3 separate regions of the Homo sapiens genome follow, and regions 1 and 3 are each linked to region 2. Evidence: promoter capture Hi-C in 16 types of primary human blood cells and fetal thymus (Javierre and others, 2016). All regions are on one chromosome and are shown on one strand. Each heading gives the region's core, a stretch centred on a gene start or on the middle of the fragment in contact. The rest is flanking DNA. Distances are from core to core; before and after follow the strand shown.

What was found. The method cuts DNA at HindIII sites, captures the fragments that hold promoters and counts their contacts. A CHiCAGO score of 5 or more calls a contact.
Region 1: a fragment that was not itself captured here is called in contact with the fragment with the promoter of DTNB in region 2 in 1 of 17 cell types (erythroblasts); the score reaches 5.1 in erythroblasts.
Region 3: the fragment with the promoter of GAREM2 here is called in contact with the fragment with the promoter of DTNB in region 2 in 6 of 17 cell types (naive CD8 T cells, total CD4 T cells, non-activated CD4 T cells and 3 more); the score reaches 9.0 in naive CD8 T cells.

What each region holds. Positions count from the first base shown.
Region 1 is chr2:25,329,679-25,333,891 of GRCh38, forward strand. The region is part of intron 1 of DNMT3A (DNA methyltransferase 3 alpha); the gene reads right to left. Among named protein-coding and RNA genes, the nearest start is that of MIR1301, 3.1 kb to the left of the region's middle. RefSeq lists enhancers at 347-847, 848-1,348. The HindIII fragment of the contact is 4,771 bases long and covers 349-4,213 here.
Region 2 is chr2:25,671,044-25,675,373 of GRCh38, forward strand. DTNB (dystrobrevin beta) reads right to left here and starts at 2,534. Exons shown (of 21, transcript NM_021907.5): 1 at 2,343-2,534. RefSeq lists silencers at 1,983-2,912, 2,277-2,571. The HindIII fragment of the contact is 7,823 bases long and covers 1-4,330 here.
Region 3 is chr2:26,171,204-26,175,227 of GRCh38, forward strand. GAREM2 (GRB2 associated regulator of MAPK1 subtype 2) reads left to right here and starts at 1,885. Exons shown (of 6, transcript NM_001168241.2): 1 at 1,885-2,129. The coding sequence starts at 2,018. The HindIII fragment of the contact is 3,276 bases long and covers 519-3,794 here.

The DNA.
Region 1 (4,213 bases), core at 1,484-3,983, 340 kb before region 2:
ACACACACACACACACACACACACACACACACACAGACACACAGATACAAACACACATAGATGCACACACAGAGATATACCTAGACAAATGCAGAGATGACCCAGGCGCACAGGTTCACACACGCACACAGCCCCCCTCATGCTGCACACGCTGGGGCACCTGGAGCCAGAGGATGCTGGGCGGGCCTTCCGACACAGGCACACGCGTTGCACATTTCACCTACTGTATGGGCCAAAGAGGCATTTGGAAACCAGCTTGGGAACCTCATAACCATTCATAACATTGTTCTGAGAGAAAACACAAAACATTGCCCTATAAACAAACATTTGCAATAGAATTCCTCCAAAAGCTTGGAAATGCCTGTACTAGAAAACTAACAGAGCAAGAAGAGAAAAACCACATAAACTTGGTTTGCCTCTGCAAAATTAATACCAATTACAAAAACATTTATGTGAACTGCTTACCATTTACACCTAATTACCATGCAGCACAATTATGCATATCATTAAGGGTATGCCAGATTAATTATGCTGTACATTTCATTTGATTACAACGCCACACCCTGAGTTCATGTATGCCCCACTTCCAGGGGGCCAGTCCTGCAGCATGGCTGCTTGCACAGGTCTGCACAAACCAGAGAAACGTGGATTTCCACACTCGGATGGACCGCAGCCCCCACCCCACCCCCAGCCAGAGACAGCCCGACTCCCACCCGGCCTTCTTGGCAGCATCAACAAGAGCCCCGCTGCGAAGCCATCTTCCCAGCAGATCCTCCAGAATGCAGAGATGCTTCAAAGGTCTCCCCAGGGGTGTGGCTGCATGTCACAAGGCCACCATACAGCCCAAGGGCCATCATGTACGGCCCTCACAGAGGAAGCGGCCCTCTCTGCCATCTCCTGAGGTCTGGCTCGGAAAGCAGGGCAGCCTAGCCCATGTCCAGGCCAAGTCCTTCCCAAGCTCATCTCCCAGACCCACCAGGGCTCTGTGCCCCTATCCCCTGGCACACTGAGCCAGCTACAGGGCAAGGTCCCAGCTGTGGTCCCACTGGGTCCTGCAACATCCCCCCTGTCCCCCATGCCCTCTGCTCTCCCGGACAGCTCTGCACAGACCCTCCCTCCCCTTATTAAAAAGAAAACAGGAACTGACCCCCAATAACTCCCATTTAGCTCAGTAGATGCTCTTCAAATACACTGGGTGAACCAGGTTTGCAGGGAATAATTGGGAACAAGAGAGTCAATAGAACATGACGAATGGACCTTCCCAGGAAGGGGGAACTCAAAACTTGGAGTTTTGGAGGGAACAGGAGGAAACAGGCTTCTTGGGAGGCAAAGAACCAGAGGAAGTGCAGAAGCGAGGGAGGGAAGGAAAAAATATCCAGGTTTAGTCCAAGAAGCAATGCTCAAAACAAACAACACCAGCCTGTGAAGTTATGTCCATTTTACAGATGGTAAAACTGAGCCTAAGAAAGGTTGAGTGATCTTCCAATGACACGCAGCAAGGAGGTGGCAGGGGTGAGGTGAAACCATCATCTGTCCAGTCCCCAGCCTGGTGGCCCCAGCACGATGCCACACTGCTCCTGGCCTCTATCTAAATTCAATGATGCTGACATGGCTCACGTCATTTTTTGAGAAATTCTTTGGAAATAGCCTTCCACATTATCCTTCACATAACACACATAAGCCTCCTTTCTATTTTAGAGGAACAGTTTTTGCTTCTTTTCTGTTTGCTTTCCAAAAATGCTGTCCCCAGCTTGTCCCTCCTATCTCTCTCCGCAGACCTGCCTCTGAATGGAGAGTGACGGAAAGGCTGGACAGCTTGACATCAACTTCCAGCCCACCCAAAGATTCTCAGACGGTGATGATGCTCGCCGCAGGTCCTGGGTGGAGGGCCAGGGTCTAGGCCTTGCAGCTCATCTTTTGGGGAAATCACTGTGAAGTAGAGGCGCTAACTCATCAGCATTCCCAATGCAAGGGTGCGAGCACCTTCCTCAAAATCTTCCTTCAAACATCTGCAGGGGTCGTACCAGTTACAGACTGAAATGCACCTGCCTTTCTCATCCATCGCACAAGGCACCCCGCCTCCAGGCCTTATGACTCAGGCTCCAGCCTCCTTCTGCAAGCCTGGCCTGGCTCAGCCTCCCCCTGGGGAAATCCCACCCGCCCTCAAGCCCCAGCTACAACCCAGCTCCATGTGGGAGGCACCTCCTGCTCTCTCCGACTCCCCCCAACCCATGCCCCCTCCATGAAGGGCATCCCCACCCACACAGTTGGCTGAGCTAGAAACCAGACAGCCACCCCAACTCCCCTCATTGCTTTTATCCCGCCTGTTCCTACTGACTGCACTTCCTAAATGTCACACCACGCACACCCTGTCCAGGCCCACATTGCTGCCCCGGACTTCTGTGCCAGCCTTCCACCCGGGCTCCCTGCCCCTAAACCCTATTGCCCGAGCTCTCGTCCTCGATGCCCTAGAATGATCCTTCTCAAATATAAATCCCAAGCCCAACGTCCGTTCATAACATCCCGCCTTCCATGTCCCCCGGCCCAGGCCCCTGGCTTCGTATCCCATCGTTCCCTACACTGCAGCCACATGGGGCCAGAAAGTGCCGTCGTCCACCTAGCTAACTGCTCCCTCCGCTTCGAGACTCAGCTCAAGCGTCACCTCCTTTAGAAAGCCCTTCCAGATCTTCTCTCCCCCTGAATCCGACTTCCTTCTCTGAGCCCTGGTAATCCCTGGACATGGTGTGCCAGGGGTCCTTCCGCCCTGCCAGACCCCACCTAAGCTGCAGGGTCATTGAGATGAGTGTGACCCCCTTCATCTATGCAGCCTGTGTCTGGCACACAGTAGGTCTCTTAGATGAATGGATGAACATCATTTGTGGATCTGAGGCAGGGACCTCTGGAAAGAAAACTCAAGTGCTGCCAGGCCTGCCAACTCGGGGGCCAGCATCTCGCCATGCCGTGCCCTGGCTCCCTCTGATTCCAGGCTGCTGGCAGGGTGTTGACAGAAGAAAACGCAGAGGTGACTGACTGCCCAGCCCCACTGGGCTTCCCAGCTGAGCTTCCAGTACCAGGCAGGGCCCTCAGGCCACCACCAGTTGGGCTGGGAACCACCAGCCTGTGCGTGGATGGCAACAAGCACCACATTGTTGCTGGTAATAAAACCATTAGGAGCCCTTGCTGCGTGCCAGCTGCCAGGCCGGGCTGTGGTCTAGACCCTCCCCTGCCTCCAGGCCGTGGGGCAGAGCCAGAACCCAGCAAAGGCCACTCTCCGCTTAGCTCCAAAGAGACCAGTGGGCAGGGAGGGAAAGAGGGCCCAGGCCTTGAGCAGGCTACTGGGTCCCCACATGGACAGGGGACTCTGAAGAGATCAAAAAAGGTACAGGCAAATCCTGGCTTCACAGGAAGAAGTGGAGGTGCAGAAAGGCTAAGAGAAAAAGGGACAACTTATTGGCAGCTGGAAAAAGGGACCTGGGTCAGATAACGGAAGCTAAGGAGGACAGAGACATCTTTCTCTATCCCTGCCACTCCCCTGTGGCCCCTGACTCCCAGCCCAGAGTCCACCATGGGCTTGGGGGTCATTCTCAACTTGATTATCTCTTCCCCTCACCGTGAGGGGCCATGGGGAGGACAGGCCACACTTGCAGGTCTTTTTTTTTTTTTTCTTTTGAGACGAAGTCTCACTCTGTCGCCCAGGCTGGAGTGCAGTGGCGCGATCTCGGCTCACTGCAACCTCCACCTCCCGGGTTCAAGTGATTCTCCTGCCTCAGCCTCCGGAGTAGCTGGGATTACAGGCGTGCACCATCACACCCAGCTAAATTTTTGTATTTTTAGTAGAGAGGTGGTTTCACCATGTTGGCCAGGCTGGTCTCGAACTCCTCACCTCAGATGATCCACCCGCCTCGGCCTCCCAAAGCGCTGGGATTACAGGCGTGAGCCACTGCACCTGGCCACTTGCAGGGTCTTACAGAGCAGCAGGGCCTTACAGAGCAGCAGGGCTTTGTGGGGGTCACCCTAACCAGGCAGCCCTGGAACAACCCCCACGTAAAGAAAAGCAGCTCATGCCTCCTGAGCACCTTCTCTGTGCCAGGCATAGTGCTAGCTGTTTCACAAAATATTGCACGTCATTCAGGCAACCCCTGTAAGATGAGACTGCTATTCTTATCCCCGATTTACAGATGAAAAACCTGCAGCTCCAGGTGGTTTGGGGCCA
Region 2 (4,330 bases), core at 1,284-3,783:
TACTTAATAATAAAGTGCAAGAGTAGTGATGCTGGCAATTGGGATATGCCACAGAGAAGCCAAACATATGCCTAAGAGAAGTCATTAATCTCTCATGGCAACTAATTTATAAGTTAAAACTTTATCATAGATACTTAAGTATAGGGAAAAAACAGTCTATATAGGGTTTGGAATTAACTGTGGCTTCAGGCATCCACTGGTGCTCTTGGAACATATCCCTGAGGCTAATGGGGGGACTACTGTACACATTTTTCCAAAACTCATCCAACCGCACACGGGAAATCTGTGCATTTTATTTTGTCAACTATACGTCAAAAAGTTGGTTTTAAAATAAATACATAAACAAAATATCATTGAGAGAGCCTGGAATAAGGCACCCAATATTGTAGAACCTAGGCACCTCTCAACAAGAGACCTGCTGGCTGTACAGCCCTGAAACAGGAGAAATAAATTTACTTCTTCAAGGCTTCCTATACAATGCCAGATTTTGATTATTACTTATTTTTCACACGAAGAAACTAAGGCCCTGAGAGAGTAACATAAAGACATAAAATAAACAATAAGTTGAAATTCTCTTGGTTCTGAGTCTAATTTTCTAACCATAGGTAGAAATTTGTCTCTCGGGCATAGTGGACATCCAAAAACTCTGCCAGCACTACCTTGACTGCACAACCCCTTTCAAAGGCAATTCCACTTATGCATGATAAAAATCCTTAGAGAACTCATAAAAGGTCAAGTTTTAATTTGGCAGACAAAGTAACCCAACAGGCACTGCAACCCAGGTTACTGAAACAGCAGCCTGGAGCTCCAGAGTTCAGAGATTCAACCAAGGCAGAGCACAGGTAGAATTCCAGCCCTTACAGAAAAGCAGAGGCACCAACAGCCTCGCACTACAGGTCTAAGACCCAAGAACCAGGACCAAAATGAAAAAGTGTTCTCTAGACAACACTACCCTCTTCCTTCTCAAGTAATAGAAAAAGCCAATGGGAGAAGGAACAAAATGGGATGATCTCAAGCAACAGGCCAAGGAGCAAGCTCTTGAAGGCCAACATGAAAGACACATGGGAAAGTGGTAGCATGGCCACAGAAACCAAGACCTCGCCGCCTTAGCCATTGCTTTAACGTGCCCAGACCTCAGAACCGGGGTTGCCTCGCATAGCAAAAAAAAAAAAAAAAAAAAAAAAAAAAAAAGAGGCAGAGAGAGAGAACTTGTGGAACAGGAGAAATCCAGCAACCTTCCCTAACACTAGAGTGACTGACACTGCTCCATGGCAAATGTGGCCAAACCTTGCTTGTCCATTCATTCATGCAATAGACACTTATGGCTCAACCGCTGTGAGCCAGGCAACATTCTGAAGATTTAGCAGTCAATAGTCATGGAGCTTATTTCTAGATGGGAAGGAAGGAAACTTCCTTTCTTTCCAAACGTCTTTTTTCCCCATCTAAGAGCCCCCTTTAAATGTTACCCGTAGGAGCCTTCAAAACTCTCCCAAATTTCTCCCATAGGCTTCTTTTGACCTTTCTGCTTTATCCCCAAAACCACGCAATTTATGGCTCCAATTTCCCAATACTGGGAAAAGACAAAAGAGACCGAAAGTAAATAGGGCATGCGACATAAAATTCGACGCTCCTTTGTATTTCATGTGCATATCTTCACAGCCACACTGTCAGCACCTCAATAACATGACGGTGTTCCATACTATTTCGTGGCCCCAGTGCTGACTACGGGTCTCTACCTACGGTAGCTGGAAGGTCTTCCTAATCCCAAGGCCTGGCACAGGAATTTAAGGGCAAGTATTCGTCACCGGCATCCTCGTCTCGGGACACTTCTTTCCTGTCCAGGGTGACCTCCTGGACAGGTTCGCTATTAGGCGCCTCGGGAAACAGTGATTTGGGGTGATCTGAAATAAATACCCTTCCCTCTGCCAGGGCCTGCCCGCCTCACCTGCCCTCTGCCAGGACCTGCCTCACTCGCCCCTTCAGCACCTAACGCAGAGCCGCCTCCAGGCGAGCCGGGCTCGGGCAGCATCAGCCCGGCGCCGGGCCCCCGCTCGCGCCCGTGCCCCGGCGCGTTCCGGACCCCGATACCCCTCCCGGCCCGGGATCCGCCGCATCCCCTCTGCCTGTCCCTCCGGGGCTAGCCGCGCCGTCCCACCTCGCAGCCGCGCGCGGTGCAGCGGCCCCGGCTCCCCGCGCCCTCCCCGACTCCTGCAGCGCCGCACCCGCAGGCTCCCGGGTCCCCAGTCCCGGCGCAGCGCGAGCTGCCGTCCCGCACCTCGCGGGCGCGAGGCTCCAGCCCAGCTCGTCTCCCCACAGCCCCGGCGGCGGCCGCAGACCCCCACCTTGCTCACTTCCCCGCCGGAGCAGGGGTCGTCGGGAAGGTCTCCTGCGGCCTCACTCCTCCGCACGCTCCGGCCCAGCCCCCTCGGCTGAGGCAGCGGCAGCGCCTACTCAGGCCCCGGAGCCACCCCCGCGGCGAACGTTCGCAGCGCCCGGCTCGCGCCGCTTCTCCGCCCGGCACGCGCAGCGCCCGCCCCCGGCGCGAGGGCGCGAGGGCGGAGGGCGGAGGGCGGATGGGCGGGCGCGCGCCCAGCGCGAGCGCGCGGCCGGGGGCGTGGCTTCCGCGCGCGGGGAGGGGGCGGGAGCGGCCGAGCAACCCCCCTCCACCCCGCCCCCGCGGCCGCGCCCCGCCCACCGGTCGCCGGCGGGTTCCGGGCAGGCGGGAAGCTGGCTCCATCCAGGCTTCTCCCGCTCGCTGGCGTCGGGCCGGGTGTCTTTCCATCCGCAGGTATCCGTCGGCGGGGTGCCCGGCCCGACGTGACTACCCGACAAAGAATGCAAAGAGCCACCCCGTGAATCATTCTCCGCGCCTGGGTCACAAGCCTGTGCCCGAGTGACCCCCGTGAACTCCGCAAGCTAGCCCAGCCGCGGCGTGCGCCCCGCGCTGCACCAGGTGCCTGTGGGCGCACGATCACGGTCACGGCGCCTGGGCTCGAGGCGCCCCAAACTTAGCGGGGAAAACAGCCATGTACACAACCAAGTCCGATGACCCGTGCAGAGCCAAGCCACGGTGCGATGCTGGCACAGAAGCTAGAGACGACTTCTGCTTGGACGCCGCAGAGGGCTAGAGGCGGCATTTATGGTCAACCTCGAAGGAAGAAAAAGAAGTCCTAGGAGGAAAAAGGGAGGACATTAGGGCTGGGAAAACAGTTTGGGCAAAGGAGCCGGGGCAGCCAGGTTTACCATCTCAGCACCAGCTTTTTTGTGTTTTACTGTTATCCATCTTTTATAGAATTCTTTCCAAACTGTGAAATACAGGAGATGGTGCCAAATTAGAATATAGCAAGGACTTTTTGAATGGTTCAAATGGTCATTCTCAACGTTACTTAAGACTCAAAACAGCAACGTCCTTTGGGGGCTATTGGTCAATGATGAAGGCTGTAAGCTCCAGAGCTAAGCGACCCCAGGCCTGCATGCTGGGAGTATGGTTTTCACTGCTTTTTGGCACCTTACGGTAAGGCAGATCGTGCCACCTCCTGCTGCTGCCTGCCTGCCTGCCTGCCTGCCTTTAGAACACCCTCTTCCTCCTCCTCTCCTCTTTTTATTTTTAAACTCCTATGGTGAAGGAAATGCTGATAACCAACTTTGTTAAATGGGAACAAATAGGTTCCTCAAAAGATGAGCATTTTCTGGCCTGCCGCGGAGGCTCACGCCTGTAATCCCAGCACTTTGGGAGGCTGAGGCAGACGGATCACTTGAGGTCAGGGGTTCGAGACCAGCCTGGCCAACATGGCGAAACTCTGTCTCTACTAAAAATACAAAAATTAGCCGGGCGTGGTGGTGTACGCCGTAATCCCAGCTACTTGGGAGGCTGAGGCAGGAGAATCGCCTGAACCTAGGAGGCAGAGGTTGCAGTGAGTCGAGATCGCACCACTGTACTCCAAGTCTGGGCAAGAGAGTGAGACTCCGTCTCAAAATAAATAAATAAAGATGGACATTTTACCTTTTACCTTACATATATGAAGTGTGTGAATATTTTCATGCTTGAGGAGACTTATCTCTTGTAGGCACGGTCTTGGCTATGTTTTGTACATATTAAGATACTCAGAATACAGGTAAGAGACCTCTAGCTTCTTTATTTGCCCTTTTTGAGCACCCCCTATGTGGAAGGCATTGAGAGGGGTAAAACATTGATTCTGTTCTTTGGAGAAAAGATGTGTAAATAATATAAAATAAATGTGTAAATATCGCTTGATATGTTCGGTTTATTGATTGAAACCAAGGTAATTTCAATATGTGGACTAGACAATCCTAAACCATAAGGGAATTA
Region 3 (4,024 bases), core at 635-3,134, 500 kb after region 2:
TCTCGCTGAGAAGTGGTGTTCATCTTGTCGGCTGCCATTTCTCATGGGGTTCGAGCCATAAGATGCCAGGTGTCAGTCACCTCAGAAGAGAGGGTTTTGTTTGTATTTGGTGGGGTTCTTCCGGGGGTACCGAGGCTGAGGACTGATGGATCGAGGCGGGTGGATCACTTGAGTTCGGAGTTCGAGACCAGCCTGGCCAACATGGCGAAACCCTGTCTCTACTAAAAATACAAAAATTAGCCAGGTGAAAAATTAGCCGGGCATGGTGGTGCTTGTCTGTAATCCCAGCTACATATGTAATTCCAGCTACTCAGGAAGCTGAGGCAGGAGAATTGCTTGAACCTGCGGGGCGGAGGTTGCAGTGAGCCGAGATCGTGCCACTACACTCCCGTGAGGGAGCAGCCTAGGGACTAAGGCCCGCTGGCTCCGCGAGATCAGCCAGGCCCGCATCATCCCCCAATTACCTGCAGAGGGCGCCGCAGACACAGAGAGGGCGAGGCCGAGGCCGAGGCCATCTAAGCTTCTGGGAAGGGGGTCCCAAAGGGAGGCCCCGAGCTGGAGTCCAGGGGGCTTGGAAGGAAGAGGTGAGGACAGCAGAAAAGGAAACGCAAATTAAAAGAAGGGAACGAAGGCTGGGCGCGGTGGCTTACGCCTGTAAGTCCAGCACTTTGGGAGGCCGAGTCGGGAGGATCGCTTGAGGTCAGGAGTTCAAGACCAGCCTGGCCAACATGGTGAAACGCCGTCTCTACTAAAAATACAAAAAAATTAGCCAGGAGTGGTGGCAGGTGCCTGTCATCCCAGCTACTCCGCAGGCTGAGGTGGGAGGATCGCTTGAGCCCGGGAGGTGGGGGTTGCAGTGAGCCGAGATCGCGCCACTGCACTCCAGGCTGGGTGATAGAGTGAGACCCAGTCTCAAAAAAAGAGAAGGAAAAGAGAGAAGGGATGGTGGCGGTGGGGGAGGAAGGCGGTTCTTGTAATGATCCGAGAGGAGACCGCAGCACCGGTTACGCCCTCGAACCTCGGCCTCCTCATCTGCAGAATGGACGCAGTCCACACCGCGTGCTGTGGAAGGGTTGGAGCGCCGGTTTACATGACACAGGGCTATCGGCTAAGGGGGCGCTGGGAACGTGGAAGGTGCTCTATGGTGGGGCGCTGTAGGGTGCTCTTGGGCAGTAGGGTTGGAGTCAAATCTGGGTTGAAGTCCAACCTAGGTTGAAGTCCTGGCTGCCACCTGACCTCTGCCCCTCAGTTTGCTCATCAGTAAAATGGGGTTAAGGAGGCTGCCTCGCCCAGCTCCACGGAGCCGGAGGTGATGAAGGTCCTGGAAGAGCAGAATTCAGAACCCGAGCTTTGGGCGGCGGAGCAGGACAGGGCGCGGGTGGGCGCGGCCTCCGGGAGGCCAGCACGAGGGGGAGCGGCGGGGCCCGGACACACCCAGCCAGAAGGAGGAGGCCGACCCCGCGCCGACTCCGCAGATGCCGCTCGGGACTTCGTTGTCCCTCCAGGCGCCCGCCCTGGGGTCCTCCATCACCCGCCGTCACCTGGGCGCGGGGAAGCTGGCGGGAGGGGAGGCGGGGCTTGGCGGCAGCGGCGGGTGGGGGCCGGGGAGCGGGGGCAGGGGCGGGCGGACGGAGCGCGGGGCTGGGGACCCGGGGTCCCAGAAGGGGGCGCGGGGACGGGGTCCGAGGAGAGGGGGCCGGGGCGGGGCAGGGCGGACAGGGCTGGGGGCGGAGGTCCGGGGGTGGGTCCGGCGGCGAGTCCGGGTCGGGGCGGACAGAGCAGGGGGCGGGGGTCCGGGAGGAGGGGGCCGGGGTCCGGGAGGAGGGGGCGGGGCCCGGGGGCGGGGCCGGGGTCGGCGCCCTGCGGGGAGGCCGGCCACGTGACGCCCGCGGCCCGGCGGGGCTGCCAGGCGGCGAGCGCCGCGGCGGCCCCGGGAGGTGGCGGCGGGCGCGAGAGCCTGGGCCGCGCGGGACTGACCGTCGGGGCCCCGGGACGGCGGCCCCGGGGCGCCCATGCCATGGAGAAGCTGGCGGCCGGGCTGGCCGGCCTGCGCTGGAGCATGGGCGCCTTCCCGCTCGACCTCATCGTCAGCCGCTGCCGCCTGCCCACGCTCGCCTGCCTTGGGCCAGGTACCGGGGTCGCTGGAGATGGGGACCGGGGTCCGCGGGGAAATGGTGGGCTCTCCAGCCAGGGGCCAGAGGGATCGTGAGGAGGGTGCGGCACCCGCACCCTCCCAGCTCCCCGGCGTGGGCCCCGAGCGGTTCCTGGCGCGCCTCCCGGGAGACGCGGGGCCCACCCGCCAGGTCCGCCTCCTGGGCCCCGCGGACAAGCACAGGCACAGACACCGGGGACAGGGCCCGGGACAGAGTTTTCCCGCCCAGCTGGAGTCCGGAAAGGGGCCGAGCCCCTGCTCCCGCCCCGTCGGTTGCCCCCCTTTCCCCCGCTGCCCCTGGGCCCCCCGCCCCGGCCGCGCCCCCTTGGTCCCTTTGTCCCTGGCCTCTCACCTCTGTCTTCCCTCATCCCTGGGACCCGGACTCTGTCTTCCCCTTACCGCCACCCCTAGTCCTGCTCCGCCCCTCTGGGGACCCTTCTTGCACCTCCTTTCTCTTCCCTAGGAGCAGCCTCGGTCCTGGGGCGGGCAGGCCACCTTCGGGAGAGGCCGGCGGGAGCCGGGTCTGCTGCCCGGCGTGACCCCCAAACTCCCGGCCCTCCCCCGAATCTTGTCCCACTTCTTAATAGGACCTGGGGCCCCCAGCCGCTCGGCTGATGGAACCACGCATGGGGGCCCGAGAGGGTACGCCCGGAGGCTGCATGGAGCGAGGGGACCGTTTGGGGGGAGGGGGGTGCTGCTTGGTTGGGGGATGGGCGGTAGCCGGGGCTGGCAGCCAGGCCGGGGGTTTTGTGTGTGAGAAGAATAGGGGTTTGGCCCGCGTTGGCACACTCGCTTCCATGAATGCTAATGGGGCCCGCGGCCGCAGGCTCCTCGTCTCCCCGTGGGGCCCGGCAGCCCCTCCTCCGTGGCGGCCAGGAGTGGGCACAGTGGGCGTCAGCTGTCCCGGGAGCAGGCTCATGGGGGAGCATCGGCGCCCCGCCGTCGGGCAGGCCAGCGTCTAGTTCTCTGGCTCGCGGCCGAGTGGTCAGAGTGTGGTACTGTGTCTGCCTGTGAATGGAGGTCGCTGCCCTGGGGTCTTCTGGCCACTTCCCACACATCCTTTTTGGCATCTCCCCTTTCTGGGCAGCTTTTCTGAGCTCCTCGGTCTGCGTAGGGCCTCCTTTGGGCTCCCCGGCCACCTCATGCCAACTCTGGCTTGTCTCCTACTGTGCACCCCATTATAATGGTCAGTCAGTTTATTGTCTTTAGACCTGGCTGTGGGCTCCTTGAGACCAGGCATCCTTGCCCAATAAAGATTATGGATTGAATGAATGGGTGAGTGAATGAACAACTGGTGTGATGGCCCAGCTGTCTGTTGTGTGTGACAGTGTGTGGCTATGGCTGGGTCACCATCAGGGTGTGAATGTCTGGTCAGAATTGTATGGCTTGAAGGGTAGGTCCCTGTGTGCCTGTGCATTTGGGAGGGGCCCCTTGGCCGGAGACTGAGTTATGTTGTTTGGGTGACAAGCATCTGTCACTGTGGGCTATTGTGGTTCAGCTGTTGGTGGTCATGAGCCATGATTACTGCTGTGTGCCCATGTGGCTGTGAAGATGGGGCTAGGACCCAGGACAGCTCTCAGAGGAGGGAGCAGAGTTGGAGGAGAGCTTCTTGGGCCCCCGGAGGTGAGGAGGTACAGGGGAAAGCTTAGACAACACCCCCAACACACACATAGTGGGGGCCAGGCCCTTCCTGTGCGTCTTGAACCGCCCGCCACCCTGCCACACACACACACACACATACACACACACGCCTACCCCACATGTACACATTTTATGGAGCCCCCAGCCATCAGAGTAAACCATTTCCCATTTGATTGGCAGAAATTTTGTAAGTTGTGCCTGAAGGAGAAAGGAAGGAGGTACTCCCTACCC